Linked DNA regions of Homo sapiens: all the other regions are linked to region 1. Evidence: promoter capture Hi-C in 16 types of primary human blood cells and fetal thymus (Javierre and others, 2016). All regions are on one chromosome and are shown on one strand. Each heading gives the region's core, a stretch centred on a gene start or on the middle of the fragment in contact. The rest is flanking DNA. Distances are from core to core; before and after follow the strand shown.

Region 1 (3,737 bases), core at 496-2,995:
GGGCTCAGTGGAACATTCAGGCTCCAGCCCTGCTCCCTGCATCTGGACCCCAGCCCCAGAGGCTTACACCTGTAGGTGCACCAGCAGCCTATCCAGGGGCACCTCGCTCTTGACCAGCTGGCCCAGGGCTGGGCTGCTCAAGGTCACACTCTCCAGCAGCCCAAGGGCCAGGGGAGGCACGGAGGCATCCATGAGGTTCATGTTCACGTAGCACACCACCTGTAAGGGGCGGGGGTGTCACCACCTCACCCCCATGGAAGACCGGGTCTACCACTGCCCCACTGCTCCACTGCCCCCACCCGCTGCCCTAGGAAAGCCCACCCACCTTCCTCACAAAGGGGATGCTCAGAGTCTCCCAGGACACCACGCCGTGCTCCATGAGCTCTGAGAAGGCCCTCAGGCTGAGGGCCAGCACCTCTCCTAGGCTGGAGGGGGGACATCTGGGGCTGAGCAGGACCACCCCAGGACCAGAAAGACCCACCATCTCCCCCAGCCCACACATCCCTGTGCTCACTCGTCCCCATCTTCAATGATGGTGCCTAGTATCTGGAGCCCATTACGGCTGATGACCTCCCTGGCAAAGATCATGTCCGAGGCCAGCGGAACAAGGCGCCTCAGGGCTTCCCGGCGCCCTTCAGGACTGTTACTCTGCAGCCCACCCAAGAGCTGCTCAGCCTCAAGGTCCTGGCAGGAACGGAGCAGGAGCAGAGGTGAAGAGGCTGGGCATGGTAAGGGTGGGACCTGGAAGTGTGCGGCCCCGGGCGTCAACTAGGTGGCGCAAGGCAGGGCTGGGGCGGGGGCCTCCGGGGCGGGGGGCCTCTGGACCTGGAGCAAAGGGGCAGGGATGGGGAAGGCGGGACGGGAGGGGCATTACTGGGGCCGTGCTGAGGCACAGGATGCTGCCATTCTTGATCTCCGCGCGGTTCTGGAGAAGACAGCAGAAAAGGCAGCGAGGTCAGGGAGGGCTCCGAGGACTGATCAACTGGGGTGTCGGTGAGGGCGGCTGGGGGTGAATAACAGATCGCGCTCCGGTAGTGGGATGAAGAGCCAGAGTTATCGGGGCCAGGTGGGTTAGAGGGGTCGGAAGGCCGAGCTTGGGGCTGGGGAGAGGGGACTCACATTCTCGGTGATGTATCTCCGGTGCCCATCCGCAAACTGCAGGGCGTAACGCTCAGAGTGCGTCAGGCTCCACCTGAGGGGCACGAGGCTCAGCGAGGCCGGCAGGGGGCGCCGCCCCTCCTGCCCTCCCGCCCTCCGCAGGCCCTGGCCCGGCAGCACTCACGCGTCGCACACCTCCTTCAGCACAGCGGCCAGGGGCTTCGCCTGCAAGTGGAGTGGTCATTCTCGCGGCCTGGGCAGGGAGGGATGGGGAGGAGCCTGGGGGGAGGGGTGGGGCGGGCTGCCCCGAGGGCCAGGGGGCTACCGGGAGGTGGGGCAGTGGGGCAGATGGAGGCGGGACCAGCCGGGTGACCTGGTCCAGCTGGATGAGCTGCGGGATGGCGTCACGCATCTTGATGGCAATCTTCACCACGTTCCGCGGAGGCGCCATGGTCCAGCTGGGACGTGGGCGCCTGCACTTTCCGGAGACCGTGCACCTGCGGCCAAGGGTGCACCTGGCCTGGGGCCCCTGGGGACGAGGAGGTCCTCCCTTTCCGAGACCTGACCTCGGTGTCCCGCACTCGCGGCCCAGACTGCTGCTCCTGGCCATGCAACGCGGCCTTCCCAAGGGAGCCGAGGTTAGTTCCGGGTTGGAGTCTGGGGGTAGGAAGGTAGGACGGCTCCGCCTGCCCCGCCCCGCCGAGGCGGCCCCGCCCCACACCAAGGTGCGGCAGGTGGGGGCGGGGAGGGCAGGCTGCCGGAGGCCGCCCCACCCCTAGTTCCAGCAAGGTGACCCACCCAATCACACTGCCAGTCCAGCACAGTCCCAAGGAGGGTCCCCAAAGAACCACATCAGAGCTAGCCTTAGGCATGGTTTTTATTCACTTGAACACTGTACAAATATTACAATTTCCTTTTGCTGCAAAAAGTATAAAAATAATCTTTATATAGGAATCCATTCGTTACTGTAAATCTTTCTAAATCTCTGCAAATGGCTCTAAATGAGGGTAAATGAAAAAGCCGAAATGAAGAGAGGGTTATGGGGCAGCAGGAGGTGGGGCCAATCATCAGGGCTGGACCACCCAGACTCCTCCCCAGAGACCTCTGTTCCTTCTTGGTAGCCGCCCCCACCACCTGCAGGTTCTAGGGCTAAAGGCCCAGCAGAAGTGGGCACGTGAGAGGGCCAGGAGGAGCTGGAGGGTCAGGGGGTGGGGGATAGCGAAGGAAGCTAGAAGTGGTGCTGGCATGTGCCCAGTTCCACCCCACCCTTCCCTCCTAGGGGAAGGAGCTGGCAGAAGCAAGACACTGAGGCTGGCAGGAACAAGACACTGCCCCCTATGGGGGGTAATGGCAGCTCCTCGGTTCTGTGCCACTGGGTGGCAGCCGAGCCTGGGCTGGCGAAGGCCGCAGAAAGGGAGAAGCAAACACTTTGGCTCCACGGTGATGGGGGCTGAGTCCTGTTCCCCTGCTCTGCGAGCACAGAAGTGCCAGCACAGGAGCGGGAGCTGTGGCCAGAACTGTGCGGTGAGGGGAGGCCGGAGAAGCCAGGCGTCTGTGGCTCTCAAGCTCTGTAGGGGTCGGGTGGGAGAGGTCCCCAGGCAACCCCCAGGTCAGACAGTCTGGGTCCCAGCCACACAGGGCATGTCCCTGTCAGTCAGAGGTTGAGAACAGGCACATCAAAGAGGTCACAGACACCTTCACTCTCGTCCAGGTTGTAGATATAATCGTGGTCTCCCGGGGGTGGAGAAAGACGAAGCAGAGGGGCAAACACTGCAGAGAGCACTAGTCTCAGGCCCTGGGCCAGGGCTCCCCTAGCAGCAGCCCAACCCCTGCCCACACCCACTCCCACCTTCCAGGGCCACCCACCTTCTGAGGACATCAACTCCTCCAGCAGCTCCGAGCTCATGCACTCTGGGAATGGAGGGAGCTCAGTTACTAACATTCCAGCTCCCACCTCTCCACCCACCAAAGCCCAGGAAAGGGAACCCCACCTGCCCATCAGGAACTTCACCCTTTGCCCCAGTTACCATAAGCGCCACAACAAGGTCCTCAAAAGGGCAAGAAAACAGCCATAGGACCCAATGAGCTGTGTCCCTTACCCCTAGCCTCAGGGAGGAATGCAGCAGCCTACCTCGTGTGGGATCAAAGATTTCTGACAGCTCTTTGGGGAGTTCCAAAACTGAAAAACAAGAAAGCCATGCTCAGGGCACAGAGGTCCAGCCTGGCCCCACTACAGCCCCCTGGCTTCCTCGGATCCTATACCACCCACCCTGAGGCTCCACACAGCTAAGGAGATGTAGGTCCTGCCTAGGCCAAGCTGGCACTGTCTGTTGGCCTCACTTGCTAAACCTGAATTCCTCAGTGCTGAGCCCAGGGTACCAAAGGCCCCCTGCAAGCGATTGGTACAGCTTTTCTAACTCGGAAAGGCCACAGAAGCCTCTTTCTGGGCTCAGCATGCACCCCCTGTCTGACAGAAGGTACCCCATCTGTCCCACCCTTGCTGAGCACCTGCTCTGTGCAAGACTGAGACCAGACCCTGGGTCAGGTCACCAGGCAGAGGTGGTGGCGCTACAGGGTGATGACTCCACTACAAACCTCTGGCCAGGAGGACACAGGGGAAGCAGAAGAAAATGCAACCA
Region 2 (3,737 bases), core at 661-3,160, 300 kb after region 1:
GTCGCAGAGGAAGAGAGACACAAAGCTGATTGGTCTCTAGGCTTGGCAGTGGGCCAGTGAATGCCTGTAGAGATTAATGCTAGTGAGGCAGGCTTCATTCTGTAGGCAGGGCCTCGCCCCTGCTAGAGCAAGGTGGGGGCCAACCAATAGCTCTATGGGTAGAAGAGCATGTGTTGTGCTTATCCATGCGATGTGTTCCCAGGAAAACTGCTTCACCTCTCAGAGCCTTGGCTTACTTGGTGATACAAGTTTTTGTCGTTAGGAAAACTACATGAGATAATCCCTGCACAATGCATTTAGCACAGTGCCAGGCACTGCAGGGCTCAGTAAATGTGACTTTCCCCAGTGCATGGATTGTTGAGGGACCTACATCCCCGCACTTACACACACTCCCTAGAGGTCCCAAGAGGCCCAGGCTTTTGGGAGGGAGTTTGGAGAGGGGCCCCAGCTCCAGCCCCAAAGCAAGAGTGCAAGACACCCCTTCCAGCCCCAGCTCCCTTCCAGTGCCCAGGTGCTCTTAGGGTCTGTGATGTCCAGGGTCTCACAGGGTTCTGGGCTGGAGCTGGAGGGGGTTGAGGGGTGGGCCCCAGCAGAGGCCTCATGCTCCCCTTCTCCCAGGCCCCTTCCAGAGGCACTGGGCCAGATCAAAGGGACCCAGCACGGAGGATCAGGAGGCAGCTTGGAAAGAATGTAAACATGAGGATATTTTTAAACTTTTTCCAGCCCCAGCGATTAGGGCTCTTGAAGCCGGAGGCCCAGAGGTCAGTCTGGCCCTCACCCACAAAGAAAGCAACAGTCTCGGGCCCTCAGAGACCCCACCCCACCCACATCTACCTACACCCACCCAGGACTCTAGCTGGGGCCTCGGGGCAGAAGTTCTTCCTAGGGTGTCACCTCCAGACACACTGCTGCGGCGGGAGGATGCGTTTCTAATGTGAGGGCCTCAGCGGCATGGGACCCTGACTTAAGGGGTGGTGGGGGCCTACCAGACAGGGCTGATGTTGGAAGACTGAGCTTGGGAGGCTTCTTAGTGGCCCAGTCACTCTACCAGGCGTGTGTGCACACGTGTGTCTGTGGGTGTATAAGTATATGCTGCAGTCTGGTCTGTGTGATGCACGCATCGGAATGTGTGAGTGTGCGAGGAGCTTGCCTCGGCCCACCCTTCCTCGTTCTTCCCTAGCATCCCTGACCTCCTCCCTGGGACCCCTTTGGTAGGTGGGTGACATGGGGGGGGTACAAAAGAGGAAGAGTCGCCTGAGAACAGGGAGGACGCGAGGAGAGAAAGGCGCCAGAGCCGGGGGCGAGGAGGCTGGGGGTACCAGGTCCGGGGCCATGCAATGAGTCAGGCTGTGAGAGCTGCAGGAGTCACTGATGTGGGGACTGGGACTCGGCTCCCTCCATCACCCCCATGTGTCACAGTTGGAGATGAGGCTCCCTGGATCTCCCGATTCCGGTGTCACAACTACGCTCACCATGGGTTCCATGACAACAGCCTCTTACCTTGTAGTCACGCAGCTACCCTCACACCCTCACAGGAGTGTCACAGGACTCATGCAGGGCCCCCCCAACACCACCCAGTGGTCGTATCCCAGTGACCCCTATCTGTGAGACATGAGGACCCTCACTGTCTTCACATCCCCACTGACCAGAAAGCCAGAATTCACAGGGGCACTCAGAAGCCAGACTAGACTGTGGTCACCAGGACAACGGGGTACCCAGCCCCTGGAGAGGCCTCGGCTGGCTATCTCATTCTCCAGGGGCTGCTGTGCCACCTTGCCCTGCTTGTGGGCCCTGAGAGGGACAATGTCCAGCTCCATGTCATACAGCTCCCCAGTGAAGGGCAGGGCTCAGGCCCCAGCTCAGGATCAATGTGGCGATGGCATCCCCTCCAGATTCCCCCTGCTGAGGCAGCAGCCACAAGGGATGAGGCTTGGAGTTTTACCCTAAGATGTGGTAGGATTTTGGGCCCAGGATGATGGGGGAGCTAGGTGGGGCTGGAACTGATGGAAAGGGGAACCTGGAGACTCATCCTCAGTCTGAGGCTGAGGCTGGACACCTAAAGACATGGTTTGTGTCCCTGTGGGTGCCCACTCACTGGGGCTGTTGCTATTCTTATCCACCTCCCAGTGGCGGTGGCAGTGGTAGTGGCAGTAGGGTCAGAGATAGCTGCTACGTGGGAGAGAGTCATGAGCACCAGCCCTTTATCTGACACATTCCCTGGAAACTTGGCAGGGCCTGCCAGCCTCTGGGGGCCTGGGCGGGGCAGGGCGTGAGGTGGTCACAGGGATAGGATGAGGGGGCTGGGCTGGGCTCAGTGCCGATGAGGACCCGCTCCAGCTGCCTCTCCCACAGCCAGGCAAGGTCCCCTCAGAATTGGCCTGGGGGGTTCTAGTGAGATTTCTTCCCATGCGGAGACTAAGACCACAGGTCACCCTCAGCTCCTACTCACCCTCAGTCCAACCCAGAACACCCCACCGTTGGCCCCATCTCTGAGCTTTGGGCACTCCAGAGAACAATGTATTGGCTTCCTCAGTGATGTGGCTTCTTCCACGGGAGAGCACTGAACTGTGAGCCACAGTGGCCCCATCTGGTGGCTGTCCTGCCTACTTCCCAGCCTCGTGATCTTGGGCAAGTCAATTCCCATCTCTGAGCCTCAATTTCCTCATCCCTCTCCTGGGCTGTGGTGGAGATGACAGGGTCCAGTGGTCAGGAAGCAGGCTGACGGCTGCAAAATGTGAGTGTGTGTGCACGTGAGCACTTGGGTGGGGGGGCCAGAGTGGGGAGAGGGAGGCATATGGGTCTCCCACTTTGGGAGACTCCCGCCCTATGGATTTTCCACTGGCATGTCGGCACCCTCTCCCCTAAAATAGGCTCTACGAGCCGTGTGCGACAGAGCCCAGACTGAGGGGCCTTTTTTTAGCTGGCCTTTGATTGTCAGCTCTCGAGCAGCTGCTATTTTGAGCCCCAACGCCTAGAGGAGTAGGGCCAAGTGGGGGCTGAGGTTAGCTCAGTGGGCCTGGCTGGCTCCCCGAAGGCATCCCCAAGGGGGCTGGCCATCCCATCTCACACCCTGCATTGCTGGCAAGGAGAGCACGACATCTCCTATAGATGGGGCCTAAGGGCTCCTCTGTCTACCTCTGCGGAAGCTGCAGACCTGGCAGAAAACAACCACATTTACAGAGCACACCCCACAGGCCACTGCCCACCCACCCCCACCCAGAGAAGAGCATGCTGTGGGGATTAACTGAGATAATACAAGCAAAGCCCTTACTTAGCACAGAGGCTGGCACATAATTGGCTCTCAAAAAATGGAACAGCTTCTGTTATTATTGTCATTACAGCTGCAGTCATTCTTGGTTTTGTTGTTATAGTTATGTTTTTACCAGATTTCTTTCCAGTCTTTTTTCTATGCATTTATTTTATGTTACTGGGTTCGGGACATGACCCTTCCCACCCCATCCCCATACATGTGTACACGCCTAGTTTCAGCAGAAAGCAGCCCCTCTCAGTCTGCTGGGGTGCCCTCTATGTCTCTGTGCTCCACTCCATACAGGAATCCCCCCTTCTATATAAGGCTTTTGGGGTTGACCCTCGAGATGGCACTTGACCTTTCAGAGTGGATGTAGTTGTGCCCACAGCTTCTGTGATTTCTTCAAATGCCATCAGCCACTGCCCCATAGGATTCCAGGCCCCCAATTCTGAATGTCCAGTTCTAGATGCTAGATCCCTGGCTGGCC
Region 3 (3,737 bases), core at 564-3,063, 260 kb after region 1:
CAGCTCCTGGAGCATGCTCCCGATGGCCCTTGTCATCCCCGTTTAACAGACAGAGGCTCTGAGGGATATGAGGGGAGGGAGCAGGCCTAGGCCTCTTCAGCTGAGGGCACTCACCGTGGAGATGACATCAGCTGAGCTGGCAATGAGGCCGGGCAGGAGGGCCACGCCACTCTCCATGATGGCTCCGTGGAAGAGTCCTTGGGATATGGGGGACACAACAAGCGAAGACACACTCGTGCCACCCGCAGACTCGCCAAAAATGGTGACACGGTCAGGGTTGCCTCCAAAGTGGGCGATATTCTGCTGGACCCAGCGTAGTGCAGCCACTTGGTCCAGGTAGCCCCAGTTGCCGGTTGCGTGCTTGTCTCCAGTGCTGAGAAGTAGCAGGGACAGGGATCACAGGGCTGTCCTGGCCCCGCTCAGCCCGGGTTGCCCAGCCCAGCCCTAGTCTCACCTGAAGAAGCCCAGGACACCCAGGCGGTACTGGATGATGACCACCACCACGTTCTCCAAGGCAGCCAGCATGGAACCATCATACAAGGAAGCCATGCCAAAAACAAGCGCACCACCGTGGATCCACACCATCACCTGGGGAAATCAAGGCAGCTACCATGATGCTCCCACCCAGCCCAAACCCCACCAGGGCCACTACCTAGACCAACCAGTGCTTTGCCTCTGTCTACCTCCCCATTAGATCTCCAGCACAAATTCATTACATGGGCAAATGGTTAGGCACCCAAGATCTATCAGGAAGACCAGGCCTCCCAATCTTTGCAATCGAACCCCCTGTATCAAAGCCTGGGTTCATTAACCCCAGATAATTCACCAAAGTGGAAAGAAAAGGGGTGTCTCCCTGATGGCTCCACATGAACATTAACCAAAAATGTCCTTAGCCTGAACCACATAGTGAGACCCCGTTTCAACAGAAAATGTTTTAAAAATGAGCCAGGCATGGTGGAATAGGCCAGTAGTCCCAGCTACTCGGGAGGCTAATCTGAGAGGATCATCCCGGATTTCGAGGTTACAGAGAGGTATGTTCATGCCACTGCATTTTAGCCTGGGCAACAGAGCATGATGCCATCTCTAAGAAAAAAAGTTTTTGTGTGTGCCCATTCTATAGGCCCAACAGATTATCCATGGCTGGGGTTCTTGGTCACCTCAAGGTGCAGCCCTTTGGCACTTAAGTGGATCTCCTGGCATGAGTTGGCTGAGTGAGTCCTGGGTCCAGCCCAGAGCCACAGCCTTTGACCTCTGGGAGCAGCCAGAACTCTGTGACCCCATGTCCAGGGGCCAGCTGCCCAGTCTGGGTAAGGAGCATTTCTTGGACCTGACAGTGAGAAGCTTCTCAGCATGGTCCACTCTGAAGCAGGGCCTGAGCTAATATTGTCCTTTTCAGCTTCTTGCAGAAGAACTGTCCTCCAACCCCCAGTGAACTGTGGCCTGACACCCACCGGCAGGTTAGAGCCTTCATGGCTATGGGCCGGCGTGTAGATGCTGAGGTACAGGCAGTCCTCAGACATGGAGTCGGAAGGGAAGGTCATGTTGAACTGGCTAAGAAACTCTGACTCCACTGCGGTGAGGTCCTGTAGACACCTGGTAACCAGGGCAAATAATCAGTCCAGGGGCCAGGCTGTGGCCAAAACCAGACCCTGGGTTCAGAGGTGCTCCCAGCCACCCTCAGACCCTTCCCACAATATCCTGCTCACACATGATCCCTCTCAAAAATCCCTTCCCACCAAGTTACAGGCCACAGGCTCTGGGGAAGCTGGGATGCAGCTTGGACTTCCAGGGAGGCCTCGAGGTTACTGAGGACCTTGGGTATCATTCCTCGCACTGCCGGAAACCTTGACTCTTAGGGGTTTCTATGAGAACCATTGGCTGCATGTGTTGACATTCACCACTATATTCCTGTAACCCGTAAGGCCTGGGACAGGGGAGTAGCCCACATATGTGTGCTACATGAGTGAATGGATGTTAATTTCTCATGAGAAGGGCAGTGGGATGTCTCTCATCCCAAGTCTAAACTCTCAAAAACTCATCATTCCTACATGGCCTCCAGTTGGAAACATATACATATACATATACATGTCTCTTGGCCAATGGCTCCTGGTCCTGTCAGTGGACACAGTGCCTGTGGAGAGTGCAGGTCCCCAGAAAGCTACCACTACTGTTCTCTTCAGGTATTTGCAACATCTGCCACTAGAGTTAGGGGCTCCTACAAGGTTCATAGAGCCAACCCGAACCTTTCCCAGAGACACCTGCCACTGGTGGCAGAGAAAGCTTGGCATAACCAGAATCTGGGGAGATACGTGTGTCTGCCCCTCCCTTCGGCACCTGGAGCCAATGTCTTCTGAATGCCAAGCCCTGATCCAGGAGTCTGAGAAGTTATTCTGCCCTCCTGAGCCTCAGCATGCTCATTGGAAAAATGCACGTGGGAATCCACGAAACTCAGAAGGAAAACTGGCTGTGGGGGTTTAGATGAAATGATAACTGCAGCCTAGCTGAGCTCAGAGCACCCCCACCCCTGCCCCAGGGCCTGGAGTTCCCTGGACCCCTTGGAGAGCTTACATGGCCGGATGGGTGGTTCCATCCCTCACACCACTCCAAGATTCAGGGGGCTCAGGGGGTGCAAATCGCAGCGGACCTAGAGGTGGCTTGGCAAATGGAATTCCCAGGAAGGTTTGGACCCCGGCATTGGCGCCCTTCACATGGACAAGACTCCCCAGCACCTGCCCCGTGTGTGTGGTCCGGATGGGACTGGCTGAGTCCTGGCCTGTGGGCAGAGAGACAGACATCACGGTTGGGTTTGACCAATCGACTGCCCTCCCAACTGTTGGTATTGCTGCTTCCTTGCCATCCTCATCTTAGCTCAAGGGACTCTGATCTGTAAACATGGGCTTTACAAACTTCCTGCCTGTAACACTCCCTTCCCGCTCTGGCTTCCTGGGCCTGTCTCCATCCCACCAGGCTGAGGCTCCTTGGGGCCAGGCATCATCATTCAGCCCTAGGACCTTCAAACAAAGGGTCACATGCCCTTGATGGGACTAGAGTGTCCTTCAACTGTGTGCCAGGTCATGTGACAGTAGGATGATGGTGGGAATTGGGCAGGCAAGTTTCTTGTCCTCAGGGATGTCATGTCCAAAGTGGCAAGAAATCATGTAAAGAAAGCATCATCCAAACCATGAGTGATGTTGGTGAAAAGAGGTGCAAGAGAAAAGTATGGCTGTGGCTGGGATATAAAAAGCACAGTGACTGGCCTGGGGACCATAGTGGGACTCTGTCTCTGCAAAAAAATCAGGAAATAAATTGGCGGGGTGTGGTGGTGCATGCCTGTAGTCCCAGCTGTAGAAAAGCCTGGCTCCAGAAAGTGGGTGAGTTTATGACTGTTTAGATGAAAATCAAGGACAAGTGCACACATCTATTCTTGTGTAAACTGCTGGGCACTGTGTGTACTGCGGTGTCAACAAGCAGTTTCCAGTGTGGGCCATGGGGACTTTGATGGCCCCTGAGGAGAAGCCAGGACTGGTTGGGTAAAAAGAGGATGGCACACATCACCTGTACCCTCCTATGGCTTGTCAATTATTTTTTCTGAATGTGGGTCCAACCCAAAATTTTGTATACATATATATTTGTCAGACAAGGTCGCCATCTGTTGCCCAGGCTGGAATGCAGTAATATGATAACAGCTCACTGCAGCCTCCACCTCCTGGGCTTGAGATCCTCCCGCCACAGCCTCC

The links. Contacts are between HindIII fragments. The CHiCAGO score rates a contact against its expected background, and 5 or more counts as called.
Region 2: a fragment that was not itself captured here is called in contact with the fragment with the promoter of ELMO3 in region 1 in 1 of 17 cell types (M1 macrophages); the score reaches 5.0 in M1 macrophages.
Region 3: a fragment that was not itself captured here is called in contact with the fragment with the promoter of ELMO3 in region 1 in 15 of 17 cell types (M1 macrophages, M0 macrophages, erythroblasts and 12 more); the score reaches 11.8 in M1 macrophages.

Annotation. Positions count from the first base shown.
Region 1 is chr16:67,197,139-67,200,875 of GRCh38, reverse strand. It overlaps ELMO3 (engulfment and cell motility 3), which reads right to left and starts at 1,745. Exons shown (of 20, transcript NM_024712.5): 1 at 1,472-1,745; 2 at 1,283-1,323; 3 at 1,120-1,192; 4 at 875-925; 5 at 515-684; 6 at 326-425; 7 at 68-219. The coding sequence starts at 1,549. E2F4 (E2F transcription factor 4) reads right to left here. Exons shown (of 10, transcript NM_001950.4): 8 at 3,230-3,277; 9 at 2,965-3,009; 10 at 1,958-2,868. The coding sequence ends at 2,753. RefSeq lists a silencer at 2,350-2,409. The HindIII fragment of the contact is 7,654 bases long and covers 1-3,737 here.
Region 2 is chr16:66,902,288-66,906,024 of GRCh38, reverse strand. LOC107984821 (a long non-coding RNA gene) reads left to right here and starts at 765. Exons shown (of 3, transcript XR_001752244.2): 1 at 765-934. RefSeq lists an enhancer at 368-2,852. The HindIII fragment of the contact is 9,071 bases long and covers 1-3,737 here.
Region 3 is chr16:66,937,073-66,940,809 of GRCh38, reverse strand. It overlaps CES2 (carboxylesterase 2), which reads right to left. Exons shown (of 12, transcript NM_001365405.1): 2 at 2,569-2,773; 3 at 1,452-1,593; 4 at 455-588; 5 at 115-373. Among named protein-coding and RNA genes, the nearest start is that of CES2, 3.4 kb to the right of the region's middle. RefSeq lists an enhancer at 1-252. The HindIII fragment of the contact is 939 bases long and covers 1,344-2,282 here.